Linked DNA regions of Homo sapiens: all the other regions are linked to region 1. The links are contacts of gene promoters, found by promoter capture Hi-C in blood cells and fetal thymus (Javierre and others, 2016). All regions are on one chromosome and are shown on one strand. The core of a region is centred on a gene start or on the middle of the fragment in contact, and the rest is flanking DNA. Distances in the headings are between cores, read along the strand shown. Region 1 holds the start of HEATR6 (HEAT repeat containing 6). Region 2 holds the start of BCAS3 (BCAS3 microtubule associated cell migration factor). Region 3 overlaps PPM1D (protein phosphatase, Mg2+/Mn2+ dependent 1D). Region 4 overlaps PPM1D (protein phosphatase, Mg2+/Mn2+ dependent 1D). Region 5 overlaps LOC105371847 (a long non-coding RNA gene). Region 6 holds the start of PPM1D (protein phosphatase, Mg2+/Mn2+ dependent 1D).

Region 1 (3,499 bases), core at 661-3,160:
AATGACAAGGTTCTGAGCACCTACTATGTGTCATAGTGTGCTAGGTCTTTGGGCTCCAAAGGTAAAACAAACATGTTCCTGAACCTCAAAGAGCTCACAAACTAGTGAGAGAGAAAGAAACACAACAAATAATTAAAATAAGGTGAATCAAGTGCTGAAAGAATAAAGTACAAACTCTGTCCAGAAACAGTAATTAGGGAGGCCTTGTGGAGGTGACTGTAAAGCAGAATCTGGAATGATTTGAAGGATGAGGAGAAATTTGCCAGATAGGGCATCAAAAAACACTGCAAGCAAAGTGGACAGAGTATGCAAAAACCTGGAGGTGTGAAACACTAGTAGGTGCCTGAAGAACAGCAAGTTTTAAATGGCTGCACACAGGAACAAAAGGGGGAGTAACAGGAGAGAATGGAAGTTTTGTTGCAAAAGTATCCAATTACACAAATACAGCAAAAGTCCCCGACTACTGCCTTAATCTCACTCTGCTTCCTAATGACATACACTATTATTCTGTAGTCAATTCTTTCAGACCTTTTACTTTGCATATATAAACACACATATTTTAAAATCCCTCCTCCAGCTTCATACTGATCTCATTCTGTATGAATTGTCCTGCAACTTGCTTCAACCATTTACCAATACGTATTGAAGACTTTTCCAAAGCAGATTTTAAAGTTTATGAACAATTTTTTTTCCTCCTAAAGAAAAGATCATTCTGGCATTGGAGGAATGACTGGCTTGGAGAGGAGCTAGACAGGAGGCAGGAGATCAGTCAGAGGGGATCAGCGAACAGTCCAGGCATAAGTCGCCTTGCCTGAGGTCTAAGGCACTCGCTATGGGAATAGACAGGAGGGGATGAACTGAGAAATATATATGAGACACATTCTGAAATACCTGAGTTGGTCAGGATCTGGGATGAAGGAGGGAAGAACCAGTGTTTGTGTCTGGTGTGACTTGGTGGATGATGCATGTGTGTTGGAAGGTGGGATGGACTGGGGACGGGAATGCGTGTTTGGAGCTAATGAATTTCATCTTTAGGAACTGTCTAGTTTGAGATGCCTGTGCAAGCAGGCAACTTGCACCACTTCCCTCTTTCCTACGTAGGGCCAGAAGGCCATGGTGTCAACAGTTCAGAGAATTCATTAATTTAAGGCCTGATGTGTGTAAGATTACTCAGAAAGACGGCAGAGGGGAGGAGCTAGTGTGTAGGAACAGAAAACATAGGGGCTTTGTGGCAGAGTTTTGTATACTGTATTTTTACGAGCTTCAGTATTTTCATTAGCAAACAAGCCCTAATACTACGCAAGTTCTAAGATTCCCACGTGGTCCGTGTACCATGTACGCAATAAACAGTAGTAATGCATTTTGTCAACCAAGTGTTCTGGGTGCACAGAGAGGGAGTGAAGGAGGGTGCGGGCGGATGGAAAGTTGGTATCAGAGAGGAAACCCGAGGCATTATCAGAGCAGGAGTCGTCAAGTTGGGTTTTGAATGACTCGAGCGTGCCAAGCACTGCAGGGTCTTCCAAATGGAGAACTAAGAATGTGCCAAGGTTGGAGGGGGCACGCCATCCTGAAACTAAATCATCAGGCGCGAGAGTGGGAAGATCAGGGAAAGGCAGGCAGAGGCCACCAGCTGGGTTCCCGGAGGGGTGGGGCCGGGGCCGGGGCCAGCAGGGCGCGCCGCCTACCTCCGGGGCCACGCCACTGCCCTCGCTGTAGTTCTCGGAGATGAGCTGATCGAAGAGCAGGTGGATCTCGGTGCGGGCGGAGCTGCTGTCATCCGGGCGCAGGGCGCAGAGCCTGGCAGACAAGAGGCGAAACCCATTGCCTCGCTCAGGGATTGCTTCCCGCGGTGCCTCCCGCGGCTGCACGGAAGGCCACGAACCGACAACTTGCACAGCAGCCATCTTTTCTACGGGCGGGGGGGGTGGGTGGGGTGATCCCAGGGAAATACTTCCGGGACATCCTCCCGTTCCGCGCGCTCTAGTTCCGAAAGTACCTTTTTTAGACCGGACTGGGGCTCAGAGGGGTTTCCATGACTACGGGACTCCTCCGACCGGTACCCTGCAGATGCTTGTCAGAAATTGGCTTGGAGGCCGGGCTCGGTGGCTGACGCCTGTAATCCCAGCACTTTGGGAGGCCGAGGCGGGCGGATCACGAGGTCAGAAGATCGAGACCATCCTAGCTAACACGGTGAAACCCCGTCTCTACTAAAAATACAAAAAAAAAAAAAAAAAAAAAATTAGCCGGGAGTGGTGGCGGGCGCCTGTTGTCCCAGCTACTCGGGAGGCTGAGGCAGGAGAATGGCGTGAACCCGGGAGGCAGGGCTTGCAATGAGCCAAGATCGCGCCACTGCACTCCAGCCTGGGCGACAGAGCGAGACTCCGTCTCAGAAAAAAAAAAAAAGAAAGAAATTGGCTTGGAGATTTTTCGCCGGCCACTCCTTCTTGAGCCCTGACTGAAAAGTGAGTTCTCAATTTGTGCTTCCAGAAAGTTTGTCCTCCCAGAGTTTGTTCCTGGACAGGGCTGAAGGTACTCTGTTCCGTACTAGAGTTTCAGATTCGGGCTGGAGTTGGAGAGGGTATGCTGTGGATGGCAGTAGCAGAAACCGCTAGTTCTAAGGCACCCTTCTACTCTTCTAAAATCTTTCCCCAGGCACAAAACCACCCGGAATAAAGGCTACGTTCCCTAGCATTCCTTGCAGTTGGCTGTGGCTCTGTGATTGCAATCTGGTCAGTGGAATATAAGGCAGCTTTCCCTACTTAAGTGACAGCTGGCTGTACTCTTGGTTCCTTTTTCTCCCTTTTTCCCAGTGTGAATCCTCTCATGGATCATGAGGCACCTCGCCCCACTAGAAGAGTAATTTTGGAGTTTAACTGAATCATGTAAAATATAATCTGCCTAAGAGTGACCGGGTTGAAATGAGACACCCCAAGATTTTCTGAAACCTTGAAGTCAAGAAGCTGGAGAATAAAATGGCCATTTAAAAATCTGTGATCACTTTTCAGTCATCCAGGAAGTGAAGGCTTGACTTTCACAGTTGGGCAGATTGGGAAAACCATCTCTAGGGCCTTTGAGTTATGCAAATATAAAGCAAATCCTCACCCTTGGCCCTTAGGGAAAACCTTGAAGTCACCTGAATGTATGTTTTATCCTGAGAACAAAACATTTCTGTTCAGCAGTGAAAATTGGGGGTATGCTTTAGCAGAGGTAGTTTTCTGAAGACTTTGGGCTTGGGGAGAAATGTTAATTTTTTTGTTTGGATTTAGATTCCGTTGTGCTGGTATATTATTTCTTATTCCTAGTCTGTGTACATATGTGCGTTATATATGTGCATGTGTGTGTGTGTATTCGTGTAAAGAAATGTATTCAAGCATTTGTTCAGAGAAGATCAGGAGCTGAAACCTAGTCGTTGGATATTTTAATCTGGGTTCCCTGATAGCAGAGCCTCAGATGAGGTTGATAGGTGAGGGATTTATCCAGAAATGAACAGGGAAGGAAG
Region 2 (3,499 bases), core at 634-3,133, 600 kb after region 1:
ACAATACTTTCTCAAACTCTCAACATTGTTACTTGTGTGTACACCCTCCTTTTCTCCTTGGGGGTTAGTTTTGGGAAGGGACTATTATCATCCTTGCTTTAAAGTTAAACTATAAATTCCTCCCTTGGTTAGCTTAGTCTATGTGCAGAGATAAGCAAAAGCAGTTAACTTAGATATCACCGATGGGTGGGAGTGGGGAGTTTAGGAGCAAAATGGAGTTAGTCATGCTAGGCCTCCTTTTCAATGTTACAATTCCACATTATCAAGTTATTTCAATCCCACATTATCAAGTTATTTCAATATTTCCAAATATATTCTTCTTCTTCTTCTTCTTCTTTTTTTTTTTTTGAGCGAGAGTTTTGCTCTGTCGCCCAGAGGCTGGAGTGCAGTTGCACGATCTCGGCTCACTGCAACCTTCACATCTCGGATTCAAGCGATTCTCCTGCCTCAGCCTCCTGAGTAGTTGGGATTACAGGCGTGCACCATCAAAACCCGCTGATTTTTGTATTTTTAGTAGAGACAGAGTTTCACAAAGTTGGCAAGGCTGGTCTTGACCTCCTGACCTCAAGTGATCTGCCCCTCTCAGCCTCCCAAAGTGCTGGGATTACAGGTGTGAGCCACCGTGCCCGGCCTTTTCTTTCATTTCTTTTTTTAAAATTTTTTAAAATTTTATGTATGTATGTATGTATGTATGTATGTATGTATGTATGTATGTATCTATCTATCTATCTATCTATCTATCTATCTATCTATCTATCTGTCTTGAGAGGGACTCTCTGTCACCCAGGCTAAAGTGCTGGAGGGCAATGGCGTGATCTATAGGCTCACTGCAATCTCCGCCTCCTGGGTTCAAGCAATTCTTCCGCCTCAGCCTCCCCAGTAGCTAGGATTACAGGCATTGGCCACCACACCTGGCTATTTTTAGTAGAGACGGGGTTTCTTCATGTTGTCCAGGCTGTTCTAGAACTCCTGGCCTCAAGCGATCTTCCCGCCTAGGCTTCCCAAAATGTTGGGATTGCAGGCGTGAGCCACCACGCCCAGCCCACCACGCCTGTTAATAAGCTATACCCTCACGGACCTGTCATTGGCATTAAATTTGATAATACATTAGAGTATTGTATATGAAGTATACGAAGGCCTGTGCTGAGTGTTCAAGAAGTCAGTCAGTATTATTCTACTTATATTAATAAATGAACTGATGAAATGACAATGGCGAGATCTCGATCTTCAACAATAAGGGAGATGGAAACTGAAGCAAGAAGTGGTCTACAAACCTAGCTCAAATTGTTGAGATTACCGGCCGTGCCCCTTATTCAGATCAACCCCTCCTCGGCTGATCGCCGGCGCGAGCCAGCCTAGGCTCCCGGAAGGTAAACACATCGCCAAGGGCTGGGCAGAAGGCGGGTGTGGGACGGGTGAGTGGCCAGCTAAAAGTGATTGGCAGCTGCCATGTCCACGTGCTCCGAGCTTGGAACCAGCTGTCGCGAGAATTCGATGTAAACAGACCAGTCTCCCTGTCCTCCGGCTCCAACCTGAAACGCTCACGTGAGCGGGACAGGAGTCTGGATCATGTTGCTTTTCTTTTCAAAGCCACGAAGGTTCTGTCTTCCAAAAAAAATGTACATGTTCGTAATTATTCCCCAGCTGCCTGCGTTTGCAACCGAACCTGACACCTCGGCTTCACCCGAACTTACATGCTGTTGTGTTTTCCCTCCAGCCCCAGCGGATTGGACACATTCAGAAGGCGGGTCCGCCTCTTTCCTACTTGCTGGTTGGCGAAGCTGACCTCCAAGGGCGGTGCCCGGCCATAGCCGGTTTGCTTCTGGGATTGGCTAGAGGGGGTGGTTCCGCTGAGGCGTGGTAGGAAGTGGCTGCCGTCAATCACTCGGGGAGACTCCAAACAGTGAGCCTAGAGCTGGAGACTAGCGTTAACCGGCGGGGCGGCCGGTGAGAGGGCTGGCAGGGCTTTGGCTTTGGGGAGGCTTGGGGAGGACGAGGGACTGGCGGCGTGAGGGGACTGGGTCGGGCTGGCAGGAATTCGACAGGAGAGAGGTGTCGATACTGGAGGGGGAGGGGAACAGTGCAAGGGGCCGGAGGGCGGCCGGGGGCAGCGGTGGCTCCGTGTTGGAGGTTAAGTGGGCAGCGCCGTACGAGTGTCTTTCAGGAGACTGGGGCCTGAGTGGCTGGCGAGGGTCGTCCCCAGGAGACAGGGCCCTTAAAGGGCAGGGCTTGGGAGACTGTGGTTCGAGAAAGCAAGAATGGGATGAGAATGAGAGGGCTGAGGGGCTGGAGGTGCAGGTATCCTCTGAGGAGGTGGTGGCTCTGCTCCTTGGGGCAGAGGGTGTTTTGGTTGTAGGAGGTGGGGCGCACAGGTTTAGAGTTTTCACATCAGGTGTGAATGCTCCCTACTTAAAAATGGTTTTCGGTGCCTTCAAGATGAGTTCCAGGTTGTGGGCTTCCCTGAGCCCTGTAAGAGATCTTTGATATTGCTGTCAGTCCTCTTTTAACCTTAACCAAGCCGACTCCATGCTCTTAAAATCTCAGTGATTCAGAGGGTCATGAAACATTCTAGGATCAGGATTTACTGATGTGACGGGAAAGGGTAAAGGGCTGTAACAACGTATTAGTTTATGTTAGTTATTTGACTACTTGCTACTAGTCAAATAATTACTTGACTTATTTGTTATAGTAGCAGGGGGTTACGAATGTGATTTAAATTGTGATTTACTCATAGATTCCCAACAGGTTTAATTGGAAGGTAGAGTGATATCATGTCACTTGTTCCGTTTGGTCTTGAAATATTGTACCATGTGTATTTTCACTATCTCAACATAAAATTGCAGTAAATTCCCATCCCATGATCTGGTTCTCTCACCCTTGTAATTTATGTTAACAACAGACCAAGGGGTACAGCAGGAGTCTTCCTTACATTGTTTTGTGGTTCTGAGACCTGGTCCTATTAAAAAACAAAACAGGATGGGCGCGGTGGCTCAAGCCTATAATCCCAGCACTTTGGGAGGCTAAGGCGGATGGATTGCTTGAGCTCAGGAGTTCGAGACCAGCCTTGGCAACATGGTGAAACCCCGTCGCTACAAAAAAATATAAAATTTAGCTCGGCATGGTGGCGCTCGCCTGTAATCCCAGCTACTCAGGAGGCTGAGGCAGGAGAATTGCTTGAGCCTGGGAGGCGGAGATTGCCATGAGCAGAGATCGTGCCACTGAACTCCAGCCTGGGCGACAGAGCGAGACTCTATCTCAAAAATAATAATAACCCCCCAAACCCCTCATTATAATTTGAAAAAAATTAAAAACCTACTTCCTCCTTTTTTCCCTTTCTGGTGTAACAGGAATTTCTGGGAAAGTTTCCTACATTTGAGGCATTTTTGACAAGGGATCTCTAGTGAGTAATCATAAATCTTCCTCCCTACCCCCAACAACGATCCATGTTTTTCTGTTTTTTGTTTGTTTGTTTGTTCTGGAAACAGGTTTTATGAATGAA
Region 3 (3,499 bases), core at 436-2,935, 570 kb after region 1:
TGTTTCATTTATGTTGTCTTATATATTACAGAAAAGTAGATGGTTTCTATAAATCATTTTTATTTTCTTCTGTTTTAGTTTTATTGATCTTTTTTATGGCCTGGGTCGACTAAAAGTTATTGTCTCTTGAACATTTTGATGTTTGTATCTAATAGGTCTAAAGGCAGAAGTTTAGGCATTGTTTTTATGTGGAGCTAATCAAGGAGAAGGATAAATGTAAGAGCTTTCTTTTTCCGGCTCAGTGAAAGGGAGAACTGTTGCTCTCCAAAGTTTGGTCATATGGTTGGTAAAGAGCATTACAATGCTCATTTTTATATTTTGAATTTTCTTGCAAGTGACTGGTACTTGTTCTGTAAGTTTTGATGTAGGTACTTTACTGATCTAGAGATTAACAGGAAGTTTGCAAACAGCCATTGGTACTTCTGTTTGTAGGATAAGTTCTCATCTTGTCCTTTTTCTTCAAAATTATCTTGATTAATCTTGGCCCTTTGCGCTTAGCCTGTCAAATTCTACAACAATCCTTTTGGGATTTTGGTTAGAATTACATTGACTTTGTAGATTATTTTGGGAATAATTGACATCTTTATTATAGTAAGTATTGCTATCTATGAATCTGATTGGTTACTTCATTTATTTAGATTATCTTTTTAATGTTTCAAAATAGAATCTATAATCTTCATAACAGGCATGTATACCGTTTGTTAAAGTTGTTCCTAAGTTCCTTACATTTGGTTCATTGTTAAAATTGGATTATTTAAACATTTATATTTTCTATGTCTTGCTATCATATAGAAATACGTTGACTTATATATTGGGTTTGTATTTAACAACTTTGCTAAACTTTTCTATTGTAATAATTTATTTTTGGTTTTCCATGTATAAATGAAATTATCTGCAAATAATATTAGTATTATTTTCTCCTTTCCATTTTGTATATACTTTATTTTTATTATCTTACTGTGCTGGGAAGGACTCAGTATAGTATTAGAAGAGAAGCAATGATACAAGGCATAGTTTTCTTATTTCTACATTTTAAAGGGAATACTTTTAACATTTTACCTTTAAGATGATTATTACAGAATTCTGGTGGATATACTTTATCAGGTTAAGGGAGTTCCCTTTTATTCTTAGTTTGCTAGGAAATCTTATCATGAGAGGAGTTTGAATGTTATCAAATGCTTTTCTGCGTCTATTGAGATGAACTGTGTAGATTTTCTCTTTTAATCTGTTGCTGTTGTACTATTAGCTTCCAACTAATACTTCTTGCTTTTTCTGCTCCCTTCCCCCAGGTGATTTGTGGAGCTATGATTTCTTCAGTGGTGAATTTGTGGTGTCACCTGAACCAGACACAAGTGTCCACACTCTTGACCCTCAGAAGCACAAGTATATTATATTGGGGAGTGATGGACTTTGGAATATGATTCCACCACAAGATGCCATCTCAATGTGCCAGGACCAAGAGGAGAAAAAATACCTGATGGTGAGATGTGATTGAATAACTTGATATTGTTGTCTAAACATTGTTTTGGTACTTCTGTCAGAATCTTGAATATGAACTAAGGACATTGACCTTGGGTAGATTTTTGCATTTGCCTTGATCTGCTAGTGGGTAAAACATAGGCTTTGTAGCTCCTAATCATTAGAGGAATGAGACAAGAAATATATAACCGAAGTCTAATAACAAAACACACAACCACTGACTTCAGTATAAATTGGCCTGTGAAACGTTGCTAATTCCTTATTTTTTTAAATGACATATAATTTCCATACCATAAAATTTATCGTTTTTTTTTTTTTTTTGAGACGGAGTCTTGCTCTGTCACCCAGGCTGGAGTGCAGTGGCACAATCTCGGCTCACTGCAAGCTCCGCCTCCTGAGTTCACGCCGTTCTCCTGCCTCAGCCTCCTGAGTAGCTGGGACTACAGGCGCCTGCCATCACACGCGGCTAATTTTTGTATTTTTAGTAGAGGTGGGGTTTCACCTTGTTAGCCAGGATGGTCTCGATCTGACCTCGTGATCCGCCTGCCTTGGCCTCCCAAAGTGCTGGGATTACAGGCGTGAGCCACTGCGCCCGGCCAAAATTTATCCTTTTAAAGTGTATAATTCAGTGATTCTTAGTGTAGTTCACAAAGTTGTACAACCATCACCACTACTACTTTTTTTTTTTTTTTTTCTGACTGTCTCAGTGTCTCGCTCTGTTACCGAGGCTGGAGTGCAGTGGCATGATCTCAGCTCACTCTAACCTCTGCCTCCTGGATTCAAGCGATTCTCCCACCTCAGCCTCCCGAGTAGCTGGGATTACAGGTGTGTGCCACCCCACCCAGCTAATTTTTTGTATTTTTAGTAGAGATGGGGTTTCATCATGTTGGCCAGGCAGGGCTCGAACTCCTGACCTGAGGTGATGCCTCAGCCCCACAAAGTGCTGGGATTTAAGGCATGAGCCACCGCACCCGGCCTCCATCACCACTACTTCTACTACTTTTTTTGTTTTTTTTTCCCCCCAAGAGATGAGGTGTCACTATGTTGCCCAGGCTGGTTTAGAACTCCTAGGCTTAAGCAGTCCTCTCACCTCAGCCTCCTGAGCAGCTGGGACTACTGTGGTGCCATGCCCAGCTCCTAATCTCAAAACATTTTCATCATCATCCCCTAACAGAGCACATGGAAGTATCTGGAATCAAAAATCCAAAGATGGGTTATCCTTAGAAAAGATGATCTTTCTCTCAGATGGCAGGAATAGTAAAGCTGTATTTTGAGGTGGAAGGAGGGGCAAATTGATTGAATTTTTGTTAAATTGCCTCCATTCATTCCGGGCGCAGTAGCTCACGCCTGTAATTCCAGCACTTTGGGAGGCTGAGGCGGGTGGATCACCCAAGGTCAGGAGTTAAGAGACCAGCCTGGCCAACATGATGAAACCCCACCTCTACTAAAAATACAAAATTAGCTGGGTGTGGTGGCACTCGCCTATAGTCCCAGCTACTTAGGAGGCTGAGGCAGGAGAATCTCTTGAACCCAGGAGGCAGAGGTCGCAGTGAGCCAAGATCATGCCATTGCACTCCAGCCTGGGCAATAAGAACGAAACTCTGTCTCAAAAAAAAAAATTGCCTCCATTCATTCACTCAATTAACATACTAGGTACTAGGTACAGGGATTGCAAAGGTAAATAGAATATGGTCCTTCCTCAGCACTTACCATATTATTATAAATAGAATATATAAAAAACTAACAATCCCATTAGATCATGAGTTCTTTTAAGGTGAGAGTCATCTTGATTCAGTTTTACATGTTCAGGGCCTGGTGTGTTGCATTTAGTTGGAGATTATCATGTATCAAAGAGTAACATAAAGACTCTTCTGTCTAATGGATTTAGAATTCTTTAATGATCTGAGAGAGATCATTTCAATGGCATAAAGACAAAAACCAGTTTGTAGTGCATTGGAAGAACCTATTTATGAACCATAAAGTGTTTTAAGATGAGTATTGAAGGAAGCATCCGTATAAT
Region 4 (3,499 bases), core at 710-3,209, 550 kb after region 1:
AATTAATGACTTTAATTTTAAGAGTACTTTTAGATTCACAGCAAAATTAAGTGGGAAGCACAGAATTCTCATATATACTTTGGCCTACCCCCCGTCTCCCAGGCTTCCCCACTATCCTTCTCCAGAGTGTTTGTTATAATCAATCAGTGAACCTACACTGACATACTGTTATCACCTGGTGTCCATAGTTTACATTAGGGTTCACTCCGGGTGTTATACATTTTATGGGTTTTGACAAATACGTCATGACACGTATCCATCATTATAGTATCATGCAGATTAGTTTCATCACCGTAAGAGTCCTCTGTACTTTGTCTGTTCATCCCTCCCCCACTTACTCCTGGCAACCACTGCTCTTTTTACTGCCTTCATAATTTTGCTTTTTCCAGAATGTCATATAGTTGGAACCATATAGTATGTAGCCCCTATGCATGACTTTTTAATATATGCATTTATTGTTTGTAATATACTAGGTCACTGAGTTATACAGATCTTGCAAATATTGACACTTTTTATTATACTATATAATATCCAGTCATGCAGCCTCTCAAAAAACTCCACTGTATACATGTGGTCTTAGTAGTATTATGAAAAAAAAAAATGGACCTTGGAGACACCCTGAAAAAGTCTGTAGTAACCTGCCAGGGGCCCCTAAACCACATTTTGAGAACCACTTTGCCAGTACTCGTATGGTTTCATCATCTTTTATATTTTAATCTTTAATCCTTCTGGAATTTTAAGATCTAAGCTATGTAGTAAATAGGCAAGTTAACTTTTTTTCTAGATGGCTACTAGTAGCCACTTGAATAATTATACATCTTTTCATTACTGAGTAGCAGGGTGACCAGGCTTAAGACCCTTCTTTAGTGGGAAGATGACCTTGAATTTACCCTCTTCTTGTATTTCTCTGGTGAAGATAAATGTGAAATATCACCTCTGTTGTAAGACAGCATTGCTTATTGTAGAATGATCCCTGAATGGAATTGCATCTTGGTAGGGAAGTTGTTGAATGGACTGTACATTTCTATTCGGAAGCACAGGCCTTGGCTTCCTTGTATGCATGCAGTTTGTCTTGTGTAGGGACCAAGAAACTGTAGTCATGTGCTATTTATTACATTGGTTTCTGTGACACATGAAGCTTACCTAAGCTAGACCCTGTCGTCTTGCTTACAACTGAGCCATCACTTGGGAGATGGAAAAATGGCTTCTGGCTGTCTGAATCACTGCTGAAGACAATATCCTTGAAGCTGCTATGGTGGCATACTCTATTTCCTGCCCAGTATTCTGCAAAGTTAGATGAACCTCCTTTCAGGCTATAGTCTATTTGATCTTGTGATTGTGAAGGTGAGAATATATCTGACATCTCTGCTGGTTGTCATGCTAAGTGGGCTTTGCAAATTATAAACAGAATTCTTCCATATATTTGGGTCTTTTCTGGGCTATAATTTTTTTCCTGCTTATTTACCAGTATTATAATTTTTAAAACGGAGACTTTATTATAATTTTAAATATTGGTAGGCCTGATTCCTTCTCATTAATCTTCCTTTTAAAAAATACTTTTCTTGGGGCCGGGCACAGTGGCTTACGCTTATAATCCCAGCACTTTGGGAGCCTGAGGCGGGCGGATCACCGGAGGTCAGGAGTTCGAGACAAGCCGGGCCAACATGGCGAAACCCTATCTCTACTAAAAATACAAAAATATTATCCAGGCGTAGTGGCATGTTCCCGTAATCCCAGCTACTCGGGAGGCTGAGGGAGGAGAATCTCTTGAACCTGGGAGGCAGAGGTTGCAGTGAGCCAAGATCCTGCCTCTGCACTCCAGCCTGCCCAACAAGAGTGAAAACTGTCTCAAAAAAAATAAAATAAAATAAAGCAGCTGGCTGCGGCACTTGTAATCCTAGCGCTTTGGAGGCCAAGATGGGAGGATCACTTGAGGTTAGAAGTTTGAGACCAACCTGTTCAACATAGCGGGACCTCCATCTCTAAAAAATTTTTTTATAATTATAAATAAATAAAATAAATGAACAAAAAAGGAAATAATTATTTTCTACAGAAGAAATTACCCTTTTGTGTTTTAAAAATACCTTTCTTGACTATTCTTTCTTGTTTGTTTTTTTACTTGAATTTTAAAATTATATTTTATTTGATTTTAATAATGTTTTTAGAAAGAGTTTTTTGGCTTTATTACCAAAAACACCATCTGGACAGTTGGGCAGATACTCCGCTATTTTGGAGCAGGTAACTTTTTGCAAAAATTGAGCTATTTTATTATAAGTTATTTCCTTGCTTCCCTCTGTCCCGGCCTAGGCAACGGGCCAGCATTTTGTTTTTCCAGCCTTCTGTTGCTGCTCAGTCAGCTCTCTGCGTGTCAGGCTGTTCCTTTTTACATGCCTTTTAATCATATAGGACAACAACAGGAAGTGCAGTAAAAGCATCTTTTATAACATTGCTTTGGTTTTTTGTTACTAGATGTTGAAACTTCTATGTTTTAACCAGTATCATTATTTGTCTTTTTGTTTCTCAGAAACACAGATCATAATATCTTTGAATATTAAGTGTCGAGAGAGCTGCTCGTCTAGTTATGTTGGAAGCAGCTACTGTAAATTACTTAGGTACTAAGCCTTACCTTGTAAGGAGAAGGTTTAGCAAAGAATAATAGAGCTTTAAGATGGTATTAAGGCAGAATGTTGGCATCTTATAACTCTTGTGTTTCATGGATTCTTGTGAATGGCAAGTTTAGTCTTTACTCTGCTGTTGACTTTTGAGAGTCATCATTGAAGAAAGCTTAATACAACAAAATGAATGCCTTTGATATTTTAACTCTTGTTATGATCAACCTATTTATATCAGAACTTATTTAAACTAGTTCTTGGCTGGGCATGGTGGCTCACGCCTGTAATCCCAGCATGTTGGGAGGCCCGGATGGGAGGATGGCTTGAGCCCAGGAGTTTAAGACCAGCCTGGCAAACATAGTGAGATCTGTTCTCTACAAAAAAATTACATGCCTTTGGTCCCAGCTATTTGGGAAGCTGAGGTGGGAGCATCACTTGAGCCTGGGAAGTCAAAGCTGTGGTGAGCCACGATCACACCACTGCACTGCAGCCTGGGCAACAGAACGACACCCTGTCTCAAAACCAAATGAAAACTAGTTCTCAAAAGGGATGGTAGGCTGGGCATGGTGACTCATGCCTGTAAGACTAGCACTTTGGGAGGCTGAGGCAGGCAGATTACTTGAGGCCAGGAGTTCGAGACCAGCCTGGCTAATATGGTTAAACCCCGTCTCTACTAAAAATAAAAAAATTAGCCGGGCATTGTGGCGGGTGCCTGTAATCCTAGCTACTCAGGAGGCTGAGGCTGCAGTGAGTTAAGATCACACCACTGCACTCCAGCCTAGGTAACAGAGCGAGACTGTCTCCAAAAAAAAAAGGGTGGGGGGATGGTGAATGAGCAACTTTCTGGAATTTCTCTTCTTTGTTAACACCCACAATGTTTTCTGGTC
Region 5 (3,499 bases), core at 323-2,822, 540 kb before region 1:
GCTTCAGCCTCCCAAGTAGCTGGGATTACAGGCATGTGCCGCCATGCCCAGTTAATTTTGTATTTTTAGTAGAGACGGTTTTCACTATGTTGATCAGGCTGGTCTTGAACTCTTGACCTCAGGTGATCCCCCCATCTCGGCCTCCCAAAGTGCTGGGATTACCAGCGTGAGCCTCCATGCCCAGCCGTAAACAAGTTTTAAAAGTAGATGGGGAGCCAGGCATGGTGGCTCATGCCTGTAATCCCAGCATTTTGGGAGGCCAAGGCTGGCGGATCACTTGAGGCCGAGAGTTTGAGACCAGCCTGGTGAACATGGCGAATCCTCATCTCTACTAAAAATACAAAAATTAGCTGGGCGTGGCATGTGCCTGTAGTCCCAGCTACTCAGGAGGCTGAGGCACGAGAACCACTTGAACACGGGAAGCGGAGGTTGCAGTAAGCCAAGATCGTGCCACTGCACTCCAGCCTGGAGCCTCAAAAACAAACAAAACAACAACAAACACAAAGTAAATGGGGGAATGGTGGGAAAGAGATGGAGGCCGAAGAACAATGCTGATTACAAAGTTCACTTCAAAAGCAATTCTGCTAAGTAAGTGGCTTACTTCCCTGGTCAAAGCAACTGTTATCTCTTGCCTGAAACTACTGCAACAGCCTTCTAAATGGTGTCTCTGAACCCCTCCTATCCATCTACAATCTTCTGTCCATGAACATCCAGAGTGATCTTTTCTTTTTCTTTTTTTTTTTTTTTTTTTGAGGCAGAGTCTCGCTCTGTCGCCCAGGCTGGAGTGCAGTGGCGCGATCTCGGCTCACTGGAAGCTCCGCCTCCTGGGTTCACACCATTCTCCTGTCTCAGCCTCCCGAGTAGCTGGGACTACAGGCGCCTGCCACCACGCCCACCTAATTTTTTGTATTTTTAGTAGAGACGGGGTTTCACTGTTTTAGCCAGGATGGTCTCGATCTCCTGACCTCGTGATCCGCCCACCTTGGCCTCCCAAAGTGCTGGGATTACAGGCGTGAGCCACCGCGCCCAGCCAGAGTGATCATTTCAAAATTCAAATCTCCTACTTAAAAACCTGTAATAGATTTGCAACTGATCTTTGAATAAAAATCAAAATTACTAATGACTTTAAAAAAAACCTTGAATCCTTAGTCTCTCTCTCTATCTTTTTTTTTTTTTTTTTTTTGAGACAGGGTCTTGCTCTGTTGCCCAGGTTGGAGTTCAGTGGTGTAATCATGGCCCACTGCTGCCTTGATCTCCTGGGCTCCAGCAATCCTCACACCTCAGCCTCCTGAGTAGCTGGGACTACGGGCATGCACCCCATGCCTGGATAATTTTTTAAAATTTTTTTGTAGAGAAGTCTCATTATGTTGCTCAGGCTGGTCTCAAACTCCTGAAGTCAAGCGATTCCCCTGACCCGGCTTCCCAAAGTGCTACGATTATAGGCATGAGCCACAGCACCGTCTCAAGCTTTCCTTAATGGCCTTTGTTAGAATTATAGTTATAACTATAAACTCTGTAAGGGCAAGATACACGTTAATTTTTGCTCACCTTTGTCTTTCCAACAGCTAGCAAAGTACCTGGCACAGGTAATTTGTAAGCACTTATGATTATTTGAATACATGAACAAATGAGATCCTTCATTGGGAAATGAATTATCTACCCAGTGGTCTAAGAGAGTAAGCTTTAATATTTGTACTTTTTGGCTTCTGGAACTCCATACTTTACTCTGAGCCCTGGCATCATGAGAATTGATCATCCAGTTTGGTTAAGACCATTCAGCTCTACCATTCTGGAATCAAATACCTGTTCAGCTTACATGATGCCTTATTTGAAGATATTCATTTCTAGGTGTCCACATCAAACAGGTCATCAATGACTGACATCTGCTGTCTGATTCTCTGAAAAGTCCTTCATCTCCACCTAAGAGAGCAACCTGATATTTACCATATGAGAATTCTTCCCCTCAGCTCTCTTGGTCACCAACGATATGGGTCGTTTGTAGGTTCTCCAAGTTCTTCTCATGGTTAAGGGCATTTCAGGTGCCCTGCTTGGAAATGATAGCTCAGTTTCTAGTATTTGTAGAGAAGGAACATAAAACTTGGTGCAGCACATACTTCAAGAAATCTTGGAGAATTAAGTGTTGCTTCTCAGTATCTCACTCCAGTACAGAACTCCAGTTCTGTAGCTTTACACCTCATGTTGTAAGCATGAAGAGTAACTTAGAGTTATCAGGCGGCTTCATCAGTTATATAGAAAAAAATGTATATTTTCCTTCTGTATAACTGATAGAATCCAGCTCTCTGTAGTATGTACTTTCTATAATCTGTTTGTGGAGTAAAGCTGAGTTAATAGCAATTGTATCTCACACAGATACATTGCTCTGTGTCATGTGTCTTGCCTATTACTTCCTTGGAGAAAGTTATGAAAAGTTGTGTCCTGTACAGAGACGCCACGATGCTCTACATCTTCCATGCTACTTCCTTACTCCCTGGTCACAGGCCTAACTCAGAGTTCTAATCCTACTGAACACTTCATTGTCTAAATGCCCCATTTACATCTTCTTCCTCTCTCCCTGAAGGCTTTCGTAGATTGTGTATTCAAAAGATCACTGAATCAAAAAGAAAATCACCATTCTTTATTTTTTTTCCTGGCACTTATAATCATCCAACATAATACACATATTTTGTTTACATTGTTTATTGTGATTCCCTTCACTAAAATGTATGCTTCAGGGATCCAGGAATGTCTGTCTGTTTTATTCGCAGTAGTAGTATTAGCAGTTAGTATAGAATCTAAAATATAGTAGGTGCTCATTAAATATTTGTTGAATGAATTAATGATGCCAAATTGATATAAGAAAGGATATTCAAGCATAACTTTACCATGCACAGGGTTTTTCATCATTTCAAATTGCTGAACAAAATTCTCAAAGTTAAAAAACAAAAACAAACATTACTACTTTGGAAGAGAATGTAGGCATTTAGAACAAACAAGATGTAGAATTAGGGAATTTATACTAAAAATACCACCGAAGAGTGAGCACTTGGAGACAATCTACATGTATCCATATGTCACACATGTGCCTGGGCTTTGGTTGCTAGAAATAATTTCCCTGAATAATTTCTGGGGAGGGGATGTGTTTATAAATGCCCTCCTTGGCAGAGCACGGTGGCTCACGCCTGTAATCCCAGCTCTTTGGGAGGCGGAGGTGGGTGGATCACAAGGTTAGGACCATCCTGGCCAACATGGCGAAACCCCATCTCTACTAAAAATACAAAAATTAGCCAGGCATGGCGGCACTGTGCCTGTAGTCCCAGCTACCCGGGAGGCTGAGGCAGAATTGTTTAAACCCGGGAGGCAGAAATTGCAGTCACTGCAACCCAGCCTGGGCGACAGAGTGAGACTCCGTCTGAAAACAAACAAACAAAAAATGCAACAAACAAAAAATGCCCTCCTTGATCTGCTTGGCTCTGTCTTCCTCTCAGGATCTCGGTCACTT
Region 6 (3,499 bases), core at 486-2,985, 520 kb after region 1:
AAACCGGGTTTCAGTTGGAATGGGAAGTTGATGGGAACATTTACAGAAGAGGCTAAGAATAAAGGGGAAGTGGTTGATGGCAGATGTTGAAATCAAAAGTGTGAAGTGAAATGGTTAGGATATTTGGTGAAGAGTGGGATATGGAATCAGAGTAATTGAAGCAGAGAGTAGCATGGAGATACTAGAGCAATAAACGGATGACGCAGATCCTACTGGTTGTGATTGAGGTGGAAAGGATTATAAAGCATGATGGAATTATCTTTTGGTAATCTCTTGGGTCAAACGTGGTGAACGGTAAGATGAATAATATAGAGCTACACAAACCGTTCTTGTGATATGGAGGCTGCTCCCTAATTACAATGCTAATATTTCATTTAGGATTTTTGTATTCATCGTTACAAAACAGGGTCTGTAGGTTTCCTTTTAGTGTTCATAATGCTTAGGTTTTACTAACAGGGTTATGATTACCTCTCCAAACAAGCTGGGATTTTTTTTTTCAAGCGTTTCCATGCCCTGGAACCATCTGGTCTAGTGCTTTTTGGGGTAATGAATATCTTCAATTGTATTTATTTTTACTTAGTTGATCTATTCAGATTTTCTACATTTTCTTGAGCTGATTTTGCTTATTTATATTTTTATTGATATAAAGATTTTTTCTATTTTTATTTCTTGTGCCAACTGTATGTACATTCCCCCCATTCCCGTTTCCATACTGTTTTTAGGCCATTTGAAAATCTCAAAGGTTTTACAGGAAAGTACAGATTGATGAAGAAATGGCCAAAAACGGGAAAAGTGAACTTTAAAGTGATTCAACTACAAAACGTATGCTACTGAGCAAATACTAGTGTATTCCTCGCTCTGCGGCTTAACTCCATGAAAATCCGTGCAAAGGTTTTAGCGTTGGGATTGTGACCGACTCGGTGAAGAGAGGGGACGATCACCAAACCGTTAGAGCACTGGGGCTCTTGGCAGTGTTTGTCAGTTATTTTCAAGTGATAACTTGAAGTGATACCGCAGGAATAAAATGCTGTATCCAGAGCTGGTCGGAACGAGCACTACCTTTAACAAAAGCTGAAAAGATCTGCCTAGGAATTCGTTAGAATACAGCCCTCTTACGTCTCTGACATACCTAGTTATGTGAACCGAGACTGTGCAGCTGACGGTGGAAATTTCCTAAGTGCTTTTTAAACAACAGAACTGGACTCCCTCCCTCCTCCATTCCCAGTCGAATACGTCCCACCCAGATCCAGCTCAAGGGTGCAGCACTTGTTCCGGCCAGCTCACAATCGCCCTTTGGAAGGGAGGTTTCCCGCCATTTCGCTTAGGAGGAGGGTGAACTCTTCTCCCTTCATTCTCCACTCGCTGGGGGCCCGAGCCCACACCACCTTCCTAGCAAAGCAAGCAGCGGGACGCCAAGGCCAGCAGGCCGCATTAAGAACGCTGGACTGAGCCAAAAGCCTACACAGACCAAGCCGCTCGGGAAAGGATCAACAACTGCCGACAACCCGGAGGGCGAAAACGCCCGCGGCGTAGGGGAAGCAAACTAGGAGATGCGCGGGCCCAGCGCCAGCGGCGGGAGGAGGCAGCGCGGCCGTCGCAGGCGGGAGCGAAGGCGGGGACGGAGGGCGGGCTCGCTCCACTCGACTCCGGATTGGTCGAGCTTAGAGAGCCGAGTGACGTCAGCGGGGGAGAACGCCTGATTTGTGTGGTGGGCGCGGGCGGTGGGGGGAAGCGCAGTGCGCAGGCGCAACTGCCTGGCTCTGCTCGCTCCGGCGCTCCGGCCCAGCTCTCGCGGACAAGTCCAGACATCGCGCGCCCCCCCTTCTCCGGGTCCGCCCCCTCCCCCTTCTCGGCGTCGTCGAAGATAAACAATAGTTGGCCGGCGAGCGCCTAGTGTGTCTCCCGCCGCCGGATTCGGCGGGCTGCGTGGGACCGGCGGGATCCCGGCCAGCCGGCCATGGCGGGGCTGTACTCGCTGGGAGTGAGCGTCTTCTCCGACCAGGGCGGGAGGAAGTACATGGAGGACGTTACTCAAATCGTTGTGGAGCCCGAACCGACGGCTGAAGAAAAGCCCTCGCCGCGGCGGTCGCTGTCTCAGCCGTTGCCTCCGCGGCCGTCGCCGGCCGCCCTTCCCGGCGGCGAAGTCTCGGGGAAAGGCCCAGCGGTGGCAGCCCGAGAGGCTCGCGACCCTCTCCCGGACGCCGGGGCCTCGCCGGCACCTAGCCGCTGCTGCCGCCGCCGTTCCTCCGTGGCCTTTTTCGCCGTGTGCGACGGGCACGGCGGGCGGGAGGCGGCACAGTTTGCCCGGGAGCACTTGTGGGGTTTCATCAAGAAGCAGAAGGGTTTCACCTCGTCCGAGCCGGCTAAGGTTTGCGCTGCCATCCGCAAAGGCTTTCTCGCTTGTCACCTTGCCATGTGGAAGAAACTGGGTAAGTTCCCTGGCTTGTTTGGCGCCCGCCCCTTTTTCAGGCAGTTCAGGGCTTTTATGGCACCAGCCCCGCGTGGGCCCCCGGCACCCAGAGCGCAACCAAAGTATACACTGATGGAAGTGACTAAAAGCTGTAATAGCGCTTTGCTGGGTGGAGGTCCGGGCAAACCAAGCGGCCTTGGGGAAGATAGGATTGCCGTCTCCCTGCAGCCTATTCTTGCTTTATTTCCATCCTCCAAGGATCAATGGGAAGCAGTCCACTCCCTTCCCTGCTTCACTTTGGTGGCAACCAGAGGAAACGTGTTTGAAACCTGGCGCCAGATTTTGGCCAAAAGATAAATCGATGTTGCACCTGGGCCAGGCGAAGGAAAAACTGTAGTGTTTCCTTAGAGAATCTGTCATAATTCTGCTCCTGAAAGTCTTATCCCTCTCGGTTGCCTCCTACCGGTGGTGTCAGTTCTCCAGATTGACCCGGGATTGCTGGGGTTGGTTGCTGGAGTAAAGCGTAAGCTAATTTAGAAGGGCTGAAACGTAACCATCCGGCAACTTAAAGTTTTGGAAGGAATTCCGTTGTAATGATGGTGAGATGTTTTTAGGATCATAAACCTGTACTGCTTATGAAAACTAAAAACGCGGAACGTGTTGTTACCTCTTAAAAACTGGCCCCGTGTTAAGGGTGTGCGTTAGATTCTGCTTGGGTTTTCTTTTTGGAAATTGCCTTAGCTGATTGCTTTCAGATAGTTCCCAACCGGTTGTTCCTAGTTTAAAAAGTACTTATAAATTGTAACTGCCCATCAAAATAAGAAAAGGCAAGGAATTACTGTATGCTAGAAGGAAATAAAGGTCTTAAATGTCTAAAAATTTCGGTGTAGTTGTAGTTTCATCTAAGTTTTTTTAAATGTTTGTAAAGCAGGCAGGATTTCTGTGCCCAACATTTACAGAATCATCTTACAGCATTATAATTGCTTATCTATTGCAGTGAATAAATGGCATGCATCTTTGTTAGAGCAAAGAAGACAATACTTCCAGTGGTGGGAAAAAACCTTGTTTATGGCAGCATAATAACGTTGC

Evidence for each region. Contacts are between HindIII fragments. The CHiCAGO score rates a contact against its expected background, and 5 or more counts as called.
Region 2: the fragment with the promoter of BCAS3 here is called in contact with the fragment with the promoter of HEATR6 in region 1 in 5 of 17 cell types (naive CD8 T cells, fetal thymus, neutrophils and 2 more); the score reaches 10.9 in naive CD8 T cells.
Region 3: a fragment that was not itself captured here is called in contact with the fragment with the promoter of HEATR6 in region 1 in 1 of 17 cell types (neutrophils); the score reaches 5.4 in neutrophils.
Region 4: a fragment that was not itself captured here is called in contact with the fragment with the promoter of HEATR6 in region 1 in 4 of 17 cell types (naive B cells, naive CD4 T cells, M0 macrophages and 1 more); the score reaches 7.8 in naive B cells.
Region 5: a contact is called between a fragment that was not itself captured here and the fragment with the promoter of HEATR6 in region 1, in 1 of 17 cell types (activated CD4 T cells). The highest score is 5.5, in activated CD4 T cells.
Region 6: the fragment with the promoter of PPM1D here is called in contact with the fragment with the promoter of HEATR6 in region 1 in 1 of 17 cell types (neutrophils); the score reaches 5.4 in neutrophils.

The regions. Positions count from the first base shown.
Region 1 is chr17:60,077,011-60,080,509 of GRCh38, forward strand. It overlaps HEATR6 (HEAT repeat containing 6), which reads right to left and starts at 1,911. Exons shown (of 20, transcript NM_022070.5): 1 at 1,686-1,911. The coding sequence starts at 1,904. HEATR6-DT (HEATR6 divergent transcript) reads left to right here and starts at 2,299. Exons shown (of 2, transcript NR_135648.1): 1 at 2,299-2,462. RefSeq lists a silencer at 1,568-1,697. The HindIII fragment of the contact is 13,067 bases long and covers 1-3,499 here.
Region 2 is chr17:60,675,968-60,679,466 of GRCh38, forward strand. It overlaps BCAS3 (BCAS3 microtubule associated cell migration factor), which reads left to right and starts at 1,884. Exons shown (of 24, transcript NM_017679.5): 1 at 1,884-1,947; 2 at 3,486-3,499. The coding sequence starts at 3,491. RefSeq lists a silencer at 1,264-2,017 and enhancers at 1,436-1,605, 1,776-1,925. The HindIII fragment of the contact is 12,302 bases long and covers 1-3,499 here.
Region 3 is chr17:60,646,603-60,650,101 of GRCh38, forward strand. PPM1D (protein phosphatase, Mg2+/Mn2+ dependent 1D) reads left to right here. Exons shown (of 6, transcript NM_003620.4): 4 at 1,290-1,480. Among named protein-coding and RNA genes, the nearest start is that of BCAS3, 29 kb to the right of the region's middle. The HindIII fragment of the contact is 3,769 bases long and covers 1-3,499 here.
Region 4 is chr17:60,628,190-60,631,688 of GRCh38, forward strand. The region is part of intron 2 of PPM1D (protein phosphatase, Mg2+/Mn2+ dependent 1D); the gene reads left to right. Among named protein-coding and RNA genes, the nearest start is that of PPM1D, 30 kb to the left of the region's middle. The HindIII fragment of the contact is 1,646 bases long and covers 1,137-2,782 here.
Region 5 is chr17:59,539,520-59,543,018 of GRCh38, forward strand. The region is part of intron 2 of LOC105371847 (a long non-coding RNA gene); the gene reads left to right. Among named protein-coding and RNA genes, the nearest start is that of LINC01476, 14 kb to the left of the region's middle. The HindIII fragment of the contact is 214 bases long and covers 1,466-1,679 here.
Region 6 is chr17:60,598,458-60,601,956 of GRCh38, forward strand. It overlaps PPM1D (protein phosphatase, Mg2+/Mn2+ dependent 1D), which reads left to right and starts at 1,736. Exons shown (of 6, transcript NM_003620.4): 1 at 1,736-2,429. The coding sequence starts at 1,958. RefSeq lists enhancers at 669-1,657, 1,658-2,645, 1,806-1,855. The HindIII fragment of the contact is 9,172 bases long and covers 1-3,499 here.